Regions from separate parts of the Homo sapiens genome. Here regions 1, 3 and 4 are each linked to region 2. Evidence: promoter capture Hi-C in 16 types of primary human blood cells and fetal thymus (Javierre and others, 2016). All regions are on one chromosome and are shown on one strand. Each heading gives the region's core, a stretch centred on a gene start or on the middle of the fragment in contact. The rest is flanking DNA. Distances are from core to core; before and after follow the strand shown. Region 1 holds the start of CDCA4 (cell division cycle associated 4). Region 2 holds the start of SETD3 (SET domain containing 3, actin N3(tau)-histidine methyltransferase). Region 3 overlaps SIVA1 (SIVA1 apoptosis inducing factor). Region 4 overlaps GPR132 (G protein-coupled receptor 132).

Evidence for each region. Contacts are between HindIII fragments. The CHiCAGO score rates a contact against its expected background, and 5 or more counts as called.
Region 1: the fragment with the promoter of CDCA4 here is called in contact with the fragment with the promoter of SETD3 in region 2 in 1 of 17 cell types (neutrophils); the score reaches 5.7 in neutrophils.
Region 3: a contact is called between a fragment that was not itself captured here and the fragment with the promoter of SETD3 in region 2, in 1 of 17 cell types (neutrophils). The highest score is 5.6, in neutrophils.
Region 4: a contact is called between a fragment that was not itself captured here and the fragment with the promoter of SETD3 in region 2, in 1 of 17 cell types (neutrophils). The highest score is 14.3, in neutrophils.

The regions. Positions count from the first base shown.
Region 1 is chr14:105,019,281-105,022,466 of GRCh38, forward strand. CDCA4 (cell division cycle associated 4) reads right to left here and starts at 1,803. Exons shown (of 2, transcript NM_017955.4): 1 at 1,719-1,803. RefSeq lists enhancers at 1-528, 980-1,495, 2,010-2,523, 2,539-2,598 and silencers at 1,149-1,238, 1,249-2,138, 2,169-2,238. The HindIII fragment of the contact is 6,687 bases long and covers 289-3,186 here.
Region 2 is chr14:99,479,479-99,482,325 of GRCh38, forward strand. SETD3 (SET domain containing 3, actin N3(tau)-histidine methyltransferase) reads right to left here and starts at 1,381. Exons shown (of 13, transcript NM_032233.3): 1 at 1,250-1,381. CCNK (cyclin K) reads left to right here and starts at 1,931. Exons shown (of 11, transcript NM_001099402.2): 1 at 1,931-2,001. RefSeq lists enhancers at 512-1,013, 1,822-2,191 and silencers at 862-1,061, 1,172-1,631. The HindIII fragment of the contact is 7,554 bases long and covers 1-2,847 here.
Region 3 is chr14:104,755,025-104,757,972 of GRCh38, forward strand. It overlaps SIVA1 (SIVA1 apoptosis inducing factor), which reads left to right. Exons shown (of 4, transcript NM_006427.4): 2 at 606-800; 3 at 1,580-1,736. LOC107987209 (a long non-coding RNA gene) reads right to left here. Exons shown (of 3, transcript XR_001750915.3): 2 at 1,382-2,396. Among named protein-coding and RNA genes, the nearest start is that of SIVA1, 3.4 kb to the left of the region's middle. The HindIII fragment of the contact is 2,093 bases long and covers 271-2,363 here.
Region 4 is chr14:105,057,078-105,060,129 of GRCh38, forward strand. It overlaps GPR132 (G protein-coupled receptor 132), which reads right to left. Exons shown (of 4, transcript NM_013345.4): 2 at 90-203. Among named protein-coding and RNA genes, the nearest start is that of GPR132, 6.8 kb to the right of the region's middle. The HindIII fragment of the contact is 2,666 bases long and covers 134-2,799 here.

The DNA.
Region 1 (3,186 bases), core at 553-3,052, 5.5 Mb after region 2:
GCAGAGGCCAGCAGGGAGCAGCCCCGCAGTGCTGCTCAGGCAAGCAGAGTACAGCTCGGGGACTGGTCCTTCACTACAGCAGCAGTGGCCACACCTTCGTGGCTGAGCAATACCACGAGGCTGGCTGAAAACGCAGATTCCCAGATTCTGATCAGTAGGGCTGGGACGGTTGGGGACAGACTCAACTCTGACCTAACCTGTCACCTTCACAGCTGGACTTGCAGCCACTTCAAAGTTTCGGGTTTTTAAGCAAATCATCAACAATTTCCATTCCTCACACATCAGATAAGCTTTGAAATACTTTATCGGAAAAACAGGGAGAAGAGGAGCAAGGTCTGCAGTCTTGAGTACTGAGTGGGAGCTCCACCTTCCACTACAAGTCTCCTGGAGGCTGTTCATGAACAATTACTGTTATGTTAATTTCAGGTATTTGGTTTTTTTTGTTTTTTGAGACGGAGTCTCGCTCTGTCGCCCAGGCTGGAGTGCAATGGCACGATCTCGGCTGAGACCTCTGCCTTTCTGGTTCAAGCGATTCTCCTGCCTCAGCCTCCCACATAGCTAGGATTATGATTACAGGCATGCGCCATCACGCCCAGCTAATTTTTGTATTTTTAGTACAGACGGGGTTTCACCACGTTGGCCAGCTAGTCTCGAACTCGGGACCTCAGGAGATCCACCCGCCTAGGCCTCCTCTCAAAGTGCTGGGAGGTGTGAGCTACCGCGCCCAGCCAATTGCAGGTACTTTTGTTACTTGGAACGAAACACACTCCTTCTTTTCCCTGAAAACATGTTCCAGTGGCAAGTTGAGGGAAACTTCCTAGCCCCTTTTCCAAGATACAGCCTACTACTCTTCCTAGAAAAGGGGTGTAACTCACTTTGTATTCTGGATTTCCACCCTAATTATAAAACACGGTGACACTTGAAAATAGAGTGGTTGTACGTAGAAAGTTGATAAAACGTAAGTTTTGTGAACAGGCAATGTTTTTCTGTGGCTCGCTTTGAGAGAACGGTTATCTGGGTCCCGCCGTCCCGTGCGTCCCACACGAAGGCCACAGGAGAAGCGAGGCAGCGGAGACCCTCTATTCCAGCAAGCTGTCGGAGCCTTTGCCACGACGATCCTGTTTGCGGGGCGAGAAGCGTCTGAAGACGCGGAGGGAGGCTTGCGTCTGACTTCTGCAAGTGTCTCGGGGACTTTCCCTAGTCCCACCTCGCACCGCCGGAGGAGCCCAGGGAAGACGGCGCTGGCCGACCCGCCCGGGGTCTGGGCCTCCTCCCACATCCGCGGCCCTCTCCGCGGCCGGGCTCCGACAGAGGGGGCTGCGGCGCGCCTGGCGTTCCCTCCGCTGCAACTAGAGCCGAGGTACGGGAAACGCCGCTGCGTACCCCAGCCGGGCCCTCGTGAAGCGGCTCCCGCGTGGGGCCGCCCGCAGGCCTCGGCAAAGCCCCAGCTCCGCGCTCCGCAAGGAACGCAGACGGCGGCCCGGGCCCCTCTGTTCCCCGGGCCCCCTCAGCAGCGGCCACCCCGCGGGGGAACCAGCGCCCAGGAGGGCGGCGAGGGCGCCGCGGCAGCCCCAGCGGTGGTCCCGGGCGCCGCCTCCGCCCCGGACCCAGCGCCAGGAGCCACAGACTCCGCGCACCGCCCCCAGGCTCCTCCGCGCCCTGCAGCACAAAAGTGCACGCCGCCGTAGACGCCCTAGCGGTCCGCCGGGCCCGCTCACCTGACCCGCGAGGCCGCCCGCCGGGTCCTCTGCTCAGCCACCGCCACCGCCGCTGCCGCCAGCTTCCCGCCGCTGAGGAAGGAGCGCCCGACGGCGCGGGGCGGGGCGAGCGACCGCCACTCGGCGTCCACAAAGGGTCGACGCTGCGCTCTCCGCGCGCTACGCCCGCTGATTGGCCACTCGCGGGCCGGGGGCGGGGCCTCTTGTTCAAACCCACGCGGGCGGGGCATCTGTGGCGCGTCTTCCCGCGCTGCGGCGACGGCCGTTGGGGCTCGCGCGCGCCCTCGGTTGCCCCGCCCCCGCCCCTGCGCCCGGCCCCGCCACGCCCACGCCCCGCCGGCTCCCAGGTCTCCCCGCGCCCAGTCCGGCCCCGCCCCGCCAGCTCCCAGGTCTCCGCGCGTCTGGCCCTGAACTGAACGCGCCTGCGCCTGGGGCCCACGTGGGGCCCTCGGGCGGGCGTGGCGGGGCAAACAGAGGTTTGGACTCTCTCGCTTCTGCCTGGCTCAACTTCTCCGCCGAGGCATCCGTGCCGGGGTCGGGAGGAGCCGGGCACGGCAATTCCCGGGCGGTCTGGGCTCCGAGGTCTATCCAAGCCTCTCCAGAGACCGGGGTTATCTCCAAAGGCTTCCTAGGTTTACACGTAAGAAATGTAACGTGAAAGTTCAAAGCAGGGGACACGTGTTTTAAATCTCTTAGTGGAAAAGGTTTTAAATAGGATGCGAGAACCTGCAATCATTGACTTAAGTAATACCCTGAGCGCCTGCAGCAGGCCCGGCAGGCGTGGCTGCAGCTGAGAGCCAAGTGCTGGAAGTTGGGGGGGAATCCTCAGATCAATCCGCAGGTGCGGATGCGCCAAGGTCGGTGGTAAATGCTGAAATGCTGTCGGGAAACCTGGGAGTGACGTGGGGGCGCTGCTCACATAGGTCTCTAGGATAAGGAGCGTCTTAAAGCACCAAAAGGAAGAGTGGACGAGAATTCAGGAGAGGAATGGCTGGGGCAAAGCCCGAGGCAGGGGCAGGAGGCAGGAGCACGTCTCAGTGCAGTGAGAAAGAACCCTGTGATCTCGTGGGAAAGTTTTAAGTGTGAGGGGTGGAGGGACTTTTGGGCTATTCTGGGAGTGGGATGGAGACTACTGGCATGGTCAGCAGAGAAGGAACTGGAATCTGAATTGTGCTTGAAAAGAATCACTGTTCTTATTTAAAAAAAAAAAAAAGGGGGTCTCTTTCGCCCAGGCTGGACAACAGTGGCGTGATTATGGCTCACTGTATCCTCGAACTCTTGTGCTCGAGTGATTCTCACGCCTCAGCCTCCCAAGTAGCTGGGACTACAGAAGTGTGCCACTACACCAAGCTAACTTTTTTTTTTTTTTTGGTAATTTTGTAGAGACAGGGTATTGTCTTGTTACACAGGCTGGTCTCCAACTCCTGGCCTTAAGTGATCCTCCTACCTTGGCCTCCCAAAGTTCTGG
Region 2 (2,847 bases), core at 131-2,630:
TTATTTTGCTATATTCTTGGGTTAAATGTATTCGCTTAAAATAATAAACACTTCTCCGAGATTATTACTGGTTAGTTCAGTTTTGAAATACTGGCAAGGTCATTTCAAGAAGAAAAACGGGAGAGGGAGAGGTATATTTTACATAAGATAAAATTCACACTTTTCAGTGTCCGGTTCTGAGTTCTGACAAACGCATTTATAGTGGCCTCATCAGCACCACAATCAGGCTACGAAGATGGGGTAACTCTTCGAGGATTCTTAAAAGCAAAATTGATTTGTCAGCATACTTTAAAAGTATTTTTGCTTTTGAAACATCACCTTATTTATTTAGAAAAGCAAAATAACACGGTCCGAGTGGTCCTAACCCGCGAATGCCTTTGCAACACTGAAATGCCCTCCTCCCAACACCGGCCGGGCAGGGGTGAGCCCCGCAGCCAGGGGCGCGCGTCACTGTCAGCTCCTTTTCCCAAGTGGAGACCGGGAAAAGACAAGAGTTGCATCGCCGGGCTGGAGCCACGAGGAGGAAGAGTTAACGCCGGAATGACAAACTCTAAAGCACCGAATTGCCTCTCCCTAGTAGGGCACTGCGCGTGTGGAGCACGGCCAGGGGCGCGTGGGAAGAAAGACGACCTATTTCCTACGTCCGTCTTCCTAACTGGACGGCGCGGGAGGAGGCGGGGGCTGGTCCCCGGGCACCCTGGTGGGCACCGAGAACTCGCAGAGAGGAACATAAAACCGCACAGCCTTCCCCGAGCAGCGGGGTGACGGGAGGAAGGAAGGAAATGGGAGCGCGACCCGGCCGCGCGCAGAGCCGAGCCGACTAGCGCGAGGGGCCCGGGCCCCACCCGAGAGCAGGCGCGAGGGCCGGGGACAGCGGGGCAAGCTCGGGGAGAGCGCTGCCTGCACCTGGCACCACCTCGAGACCGGGTGGCGCGGGGCCCGGGAGCGTGGGCGCCAGAGGGGACAGGGCAGCGGCGAGCGCGCGCCTCTCGCCCCGCAGGGCGCCCGGGCAGAGGCCGACCGGCGCCCTCCGACCCCGCCGGGCCCTCCTCGCCCTGGCCCCCGAGCGCACACCTGCCCCTTCAAGCCCCGGGGCCACAGCGGCCGGCGGGGACCCTGGCGGGGGCGCGGGCCGGACTTCGGCCGAGGGGCGCTGGCCAGGGCGAGGGACGGCCTCGCAGAGCTCGGAGACGCGGCGCGAGTTTCCCCCGCGGGCCGCGCGGGCGCAGAGACCGCCGCCAGCACTCACCTGCCCGCTTCCCCTAGCGCAGCGGGAACGACGTACTCCGGCCCGGACCCCGCCGTCCGCCTCAACCAACCCCCAGGCGGTGGCGGCGGTGGCGGCGGCGGCGGCCGGACGGGAGGGGCGGGACGGCAGCCTGAGACGGCCCCGCGACCGCGGCCCAACGCTTCTCCTCCCGCCCCGGACCCCGCCCCCGGGCCGCAGCCGCCGCCGTTCATTGGCCCACGCTTCGGACGCATGGGCGCGGCCCCGCCCCGCCACCCAGCCGGCGTTCCGTTCGGGGTCCTCCCCAGCCAGTGGGCTGGCAGCTCCCGGGGGCAAGAGCGGCCGGCTCAGCCGCCGCCAACCACGATGTCGCAACTGGCTGCGTTCGCCCCCGCCAGAGCTTTGATTGGACGAATCTCGACCCGGGCCCCGCCTACGCGCCCAAGTTCCGTTAGCAGGTTCGGTTGCTCCAGAATGCCTTTTCGCCCCGAGGGGCGGGACCGACGGGATGGGCCCTGTGGCTGGCTCCTCCCTCTGTAAGCAGCAGCCACTGACCCGCGGGGCGGGCGGGGAGGAGAGCGGCGGCTCGTTCCTCTTTTGAGAGCTCTGCTTTCTTCCCATTGGTTGACAGGCATCCTACTCTCTCCGCCCCTCCGGTCGCTTGGTGGCGTCTCAGGACGCAGCGTGATGACGTAGGTCCCCGACATTCCATATACAAGATGGCCGCAGTCGGCAAGGAGAGACGTCGCTGAGGGGCTTGCCTGAAGCGAGGGGTGAGTGACCCACCGACTGAGGGCAGCGCCGCCCACCTCCCGCGTATCTGGAGGTCGGAGTAGGTTATGGCCAACCGCCGCTATCCACTGGCGGAGTCTCTCTTTCCGGATTCTGCCTCCCTCCGCTAACCTCCGGTACACATTGAACTTTGCGGGCGACGCGGGGTTGTGGGGCGGGCGTGTAGAGAGGGTCTGAGGCGCCGGGGCGGGGCAGGGAGGCCGGACTCACCCTAGAACTGGTAGCGGCCCTCGCACTGGGGGGCAGTCAGAGTTGGGGAACTTTCTAGGGGTTGGGCAAAAGGGGCAGCGGTGTTAACCGCGCACAGTCTCACAGCCACAGACTTCTCATATCTCCCCGATTATTTCGCGGCGTATTAGTCCCAACCTTGGCTAGGCCTGAAACTTTTTGGAGGTTGTTCCATGTCTAGGGTACTCCGACTTTGGAGTTTTGGAGAGCCACGTAACGAGGGTGCGGCTAAGATGAGGAAAAGGCACTTCCGGGATTAGATTTCGTTCTTGCCCAGACATCGTCTTTACGGACCCGCTCCTGGTGGTTGATTTGGTTTGTTATGAGAGAAATTGTTCTTTAGAAAATTGGAGCGTAAGTCTAGAGGTTATGTGACAGCTCCTAAACGATTGTCTGCCCAAGATAGGCTCGGTAATGCTCCCTAAATTTAGACTGCCAGTTAAACGGAGCTTTCGCTAAGTCATCTGAGGTTAGGAACTATTTCTAAGAGCATTTCTTAAGGGTGGTCTTCTGTGTTTTTAAGAGAAACTTGGTGATGTTTGTGTATCTCGATCTAAATCGCTGTTTACAGATACCTAGCACAATGCCTTGCAGTTGTA
Region 3 (2,948 bases), core at 67-2,566, 5.3 Mb after region 2:
ACCACTGCTCCCAGGGATGGGTGGGTGTTCTAGAACAAGAGGTCTGGAAGGTTCTGGGATGCTTGTCTTGCCAGCAACTCTGTAGCAGGTGAAGGGGGTGTGCTCTGGCCAGAGGCTGTAGGCCCAGCTCCAAGCCTCTGGCTGCTTCCTTGGCAGGGGACGAGTTTTGTGAATTAGTGCTCCACAGTGCAGAGCTCCCTCTGTGCATTCCACAGAGCCTGGTTTCCAGGTGGGGAGTGCTGGGGAAGCAGAAAAGGGAGAAAGGGGACAAGCTTAGTGAGGCGAGGCCAGCCGTGAATTGCAGAAAATGAGCCGAGTGATAGGAGAGGGAACCCTTGCATCAGACACAGGTGGGGCTGCAGGGCCAGAGCCTTCCTGGAGGAGATGACAGCTAAGCCAGGTAAGGAAAGGACGCACAAGCATTCTCAGCATAGAGGCAGAGCAGGACCCAGCTCGCCAGGGCACAACACAGGCTGGGGTTACTGGGAGACAGAGGGCACACAGGAGGACGATGGGGTTCATGTGAGGCTAGAAAGACTCAATGGCCATGCAGGGGCTTCGTTGGTACACAGTGAAGGACGTGAGAATGATTTATCTTCCCCCAGAGAAGACCAAGCGACTCCTGTTCCTCGGGGCCCAGGCCTACCTGGACCACGTGTGGGATGAAGGCTGTGCCGTCGTTCACCTGCCAGAGTCCCCAAAGCCTGGCCCTACAGGGGCCCCGAGGGCTGCACGTGGGCAGATGCTGATTGGACCAGACGGCCGCCTGATCAGGAGCCTTGGGCAGGCCTCCGAAGCTGGTGAGTGGCACCAGCAGCCCTTTGTGGCTGTGGCACTGAGGGCAGGTGGTGGCACGAGCATTTTTCTTGATTTGCAAGGTCAGGCTTTTCCTCCCTGGGTAAGCAGGACTCTGACCCAGAGCTTGGCCTTCTGGCTCAGAAGGCTCCTGTTATCAGGAGGTCTCACATTCAAGACTGGAAGTTGTTAAACAGCTTCTAAGTACTGGGCCAAAAAAGCAGCAGAGACTCCCCGGGTATCCCGTCTGCTTTCCGCCTGCAGCCCCCTCAGATAGTCCCACAAGGCTGGAAACATGCCAGTCCCATCCCTATGCAGTGTGGGGTCTCAGAGCATCACCTGTGTTGCTGGTTAGAAATGCAATCCCCGACTCTACCTCAAGTCTGGTTGGTGTGTCTAGGAGGAGCCCAGGCACCTCTTTGTTAACCAGTAAGGCAGTGGGCCACACTGAGACCCAGATGGGACACATGGAGTTCTGACAAGCAACAGGGGAAGAATGGTCCTTCCAGCACTAGCCTCCAGGTAGCAGAGGGACCTGGTAAGGGAAAGAGCACTGAACTTGGAGTCAACTACAGGCATATCTCACCTTGGATCTCTGTAGTAAAACGGGGGTCCTGTGCACTGTACCAGGCTCACGGGTTGTCAGAAGGATCCAGTGTAGGTGGGGATGGGGTAGGCAGGTCAGAGCCCTCTGCCCTCAGGTATGCATGGAGGCAGGTAGCCCGGCAGTCCCGGAAACTCCAGTCTCCTTGCAGCCTGACGGCTTGGCGTTTCTTCCTCACAGACCCATCTGGGGTAGCGTCCATTGCCTGTTCCTCATGCGTGCGAGCCGTGGATGGGAAGGCGGTCTGCGGTCAGTGTGAGCGAGCCCTGTGCGGGCAGTGTGTGCGCACCTGCTGGGGCTGCGGCTCCGTGGCCTGTACCCTGTGTGGCCTCGTGGAGTAAGTACTTCAGTCCCTGGAGCTGCTGAGATCCCATAGCCCCAGCAAGCCGTGATGGGGGACGGGTGGGTCACCCATGTGGGCCCAGAACACACACGTGTGGCCCCTGATGCAGTGCCATCTGGCATTGCCTAACGGGACATGGTGGCAATAGATGCTTGGCCCAACTTTAGTGGTTAGTAATCCTCTCTAAGGGAAAGCTGAACCTCACAGATGACCTGCTCTGTATCCGGCTCTAGTCCCTGTCTTCAGCCACTTCCTGTTCTGATCTTTGAGCACCCCCACCTCCTCCTCCTCTGGTCTTTGAGCCCCCCCTCCCCCCGTCCGAGGAGCCCCTGGTTGGTGACACAGGTGCACACCGCAGCTTCACCACAGTCATGCGTGCCGTTTGGTTGTAGACCCTCTCAGGCAGGAAGTGGAGTGTTTGTGTAGTCTCCCATTTGTGGGTGGGTTTGCTGCAGCTGGCTGGATCCCGTCCTTACTCCTAAGGTGGGGAGGGGCGTTCTCACCCTAGGGGCTACTCACCTGGTGGATGGGAGTGGACAGTGTGGAGCCTGTTTGCCCTGCCCCGTGAGAAAGATGACTTCATCCAGACACATGTGGAACTGGCTCCATAGACCCAAAGCAAGCTTAGTCCAAACAATGTCTGAAATTGTCCATCTAAAATAGAAACCACATGTTACATCTCGAGTCCTTTCTCTCGAGCCTTTCTTCAGTCGGGGCAGAGGCCCAGACTCATTGGAGACGGAGAGCCCTGGGCAGGGGGGGCAGCACCAGGGAGAAGCGCCGCGTGCCAGTGATCGGCTCCCATGGCTTCAGCATGGGCAGGAGTGGGGTAACGCACCCCATCCAGGTTGGGAATCATCTGCAGGGCTAGCTATGAATGTGGGATACTCTGTCTTTGCTTTTCACCCGCTGAGTTCATCTTCTTTCCTAGAAGTAAACTGAAAAGGGCAGGGTTTTCTCATTGTCTGGTGGCCCTCTCACCAAAGCAGAAGTGAACATAGCCATGGGCAGGTTCAGCGGAGAGGTGGGTCCCAGAGCGCTGCGTGGCTGGCCTCCCACTCCTGCCCTGCACACCATCCTTGAGGGACTCCCTTGCGCCCATTTCCTCCTGGCCTCTACCTACTTTCTGCTGCTGCTTCCTCCCATACCCACAGAGTTCACGTTGAGCTGAGTGGGCCACTGTCCCCACTGTGGACACACTCTTTT
Region 4 (3,052 bases), core at 217-2,716, 5.6 Mb after region 2:
TAATTTTTGAATTATGAGACAACATGCTTCATGGAAAAATTCTCATGGGCTTCCTCTTACATGTTCAAAGTCGGAGAAGGCTCTCTCACCTGGCATATTTTGCGGGTTCCAATCTCAGTGTGGCTCTAAGATAAGCTTTCTAAGTACATGTCATGCGTCTTGTCGGTCCTATCAAGACGTTCACTCTGAGAGTTTAAAATGACCTGGAAAAAGAGTAGGTTGAAATTGTTTTAGGGAAATCAGATTGAGTCACAAGTTAACCCATTGACAAACGGCTAGTGAGTATTTACTAATTTACTAAGTGGCCCGTTGATTCGTAGGTGTTTTTTAAATGTTGAGAATCTGCCGTTGCATCCCACATGAGAAACACAAGCAAGGCTCCAAGCCAACAGGCATCAAAACGTCACATTAGCCACTGCGACTACATACGATTCTTTTTTTTTTTTTTTTTTTTTTTTCTTGAGATGGAGTCTTGCTCTGTCGCCCAGGCTGGAGTGCAGTAGCACAATCTCGGCTCACTGCAACCTCTGCCTCCCGGGTTCAAACTATTCTCCTGCAGCAGCCTCTTGAGTAGCTGGGAGTACAGTCGCCTGCCACCACCCCCAGCTAATTTTTTTTTTTTTTTTTTTGAGACAGAGTCGCACTCTGTTGCCCAGGCTGGAGTGCAATGGCATGATCTCGGCTCACTGCAACCTCCGCCTCCTGGGTTCAAGCGATTCTCCTGTCTTAGCCTCCCAAGTAGCTGGGACTACACACACGCGCCACCATCCCCAGCTAGATTTTGTATTTTTAGTAGAGACGGGGTCTCACCATGTTGGGCAGGCTGGTCTCAAACTCCTGACCTCAAATGATCCACCCACCTCGGCCTCCCAAAGTGCTGGGATTACAGGCGTAAGCCACCGCACCTGGCCTAGGTACTCTTCTTGTTTGTCAATTATACCTTTATAAAGCTGGGAGAGAAAAGAAAGTTGATGAGCTTTCACAGAAAACATAAAAATAGCTCCTAAAGGCCAGGTGTGGTAACTCATGGCTGTAAATCCCAGCCCTTTGAGAAGCTGAGGTGGGAGGATAGCTGGAGTCCAGGAGTTCAAGACCAGCCTGGGCAATATAGTAACACCCCACACCTACAAAAATATAAACAGGCATGATGGTGCACACGTGTAGTCCCAGCTACCCAGGAGGCTGAGTTGGGAGGATCGCTTGAGCCCAGGAGGTAGGGGTTGCAGTGAGCTGTGACTGAGCTGCTGCACTCCGGCCTGGCTACAGAGAGAGACCCCGTCTCAAGAAAAAAGAAAAGCTCCTAAAATCTGAAAAATGTTCAACTCCACTTCTAATCAAAGAAATGCAAACATGAATATCTGAAAGACAGTCTTTTAAAATCTTTTTTTGGCCTATCATGTTGGCAAAAATAAAGACCTTTTAAACTCATAGTGTTTGAGAGTAGGCAATGGGTGCCCGTACACGGGACTGACGGAAGTATGAATTGGCTCGCAGCAAAATTTTGCAATATGTTTCCAAAAATCTCAAATGTGCTCTACTTTTGACCTGGCTGATCCCCTTCTAGGAATTTTTCCTGGCTACCCGAGGTGTGACGTGCACATGGCCTGGAAGCTGTGTCACCCACAGCATGAGGGGCCCGGAGGAGGGAGGCATGATGGGCGGGCAGCAGATGGCTCAGGGCATGCAGGGGGGTGGCGCAAGGCGCCCAGGGGCCTGTCCCTCTGCTTCCTTCCCTAACCTGAGGTGCCTCTAAAACAGGCACCACCCTGACCAGCCAAAGAGGGTTTGCAGGGAGGAGAGCGCCCTAAACCCATCCTCAGATGGTGTTTGTGCCTCTCCCACAGCCCTGCAAAGCCTGAGGGTCTCGCTCTGCTGTTTCCGGGCCCTGCAGTGCAGGGATAGAGGCTGAGCCTGGCGGCTGCCTCACTAGCTCCAATCCTGCCTCCCTGGTGCCAGGCCCAACCCCCACCCCATGCTGCCTGGTGCTGCCCTCTATCAGCCGAGACCCTCATGGGAAGCCAGCAGGTGCAGTCAGTCTCCCAGTGCACACTCCCCTCCCAGGGCAGGGCCGGCCCGGCTGCGGGCAGAGCCCCTACACAGCAAGGCCCCTTTGGGCCCGAGGCCTGTATGTTGAGAGGCTGGCCAGGGGCACTCCCTGGAGCCACTTGCTCTTCCCGCCCATCCCACGTGGCTCTTGCAGGAATTCTCTGGAAGCTGCTCAAAAGTGAGGCAGAACCCAGGGACACCCACACCAAGGGCTCTGGGCCAGCAGGTGGGGCTGCCTGTGTGTTGACATCCCCAGCTGCCCTTTCAAGTATATTTCTGTGAAAGGAAAGTATCTTGGGCCCCTTCAAGCTGGGAACTGCTCAGCGCCGATCTGCCTGGCGTTCTATTCAGTCATCCCTCTGCTCACTGAGACAGATGCATATTCTGATGCCTCCTTTGGAGAGACTTATCAGAAACTGAAAACAATGCAACCATTTGTCTCTCGCCTACCTGTGTAGGCGAGAGACAAATGGTTGGGAAGCCCCCTCCCTGCTTCGAGTTGTCCCCACCTTTCTGGACGGAACCAATGTACGTCTCACATATATTGATTGATGTCTCTTGTCTCCCTAAAATGCATGAAACCAGGCTGCGCCCGACCACCCTGGGCACGTCATCAGGACTTCCTGAGGCTGTGTCACAGACGCGTGTCCTCAACTTTAGCAAATAAACCTCCTAAAATGATTGAGACTTGTCTCGACGTTTTTTAACAACTGGAAAAACAGGAAGCCACAATGTTCTCCTGAGATTACAGGAAGCTTGTTAACTTATGGAGAATTTTAAAGCAATACCTTGAAAACACATGAAAAAGTGAGACACTGAGTCAAGAAAGAAACAAGAAAAGCCATCTCCAAAGTGATGCCCCCTTGGCGGTGGGTGGTGTGGGCCGGAGGGGTTCCTGGGCTACCCATTCTGCCACCACCCTGCCACTGGCTGGAGTAAGTATGCACTGCTCCCTGCATCTCGGGCCAGCCCCCTGAGTGGAGATGGTGGGGCAGCGCTGAGGGTC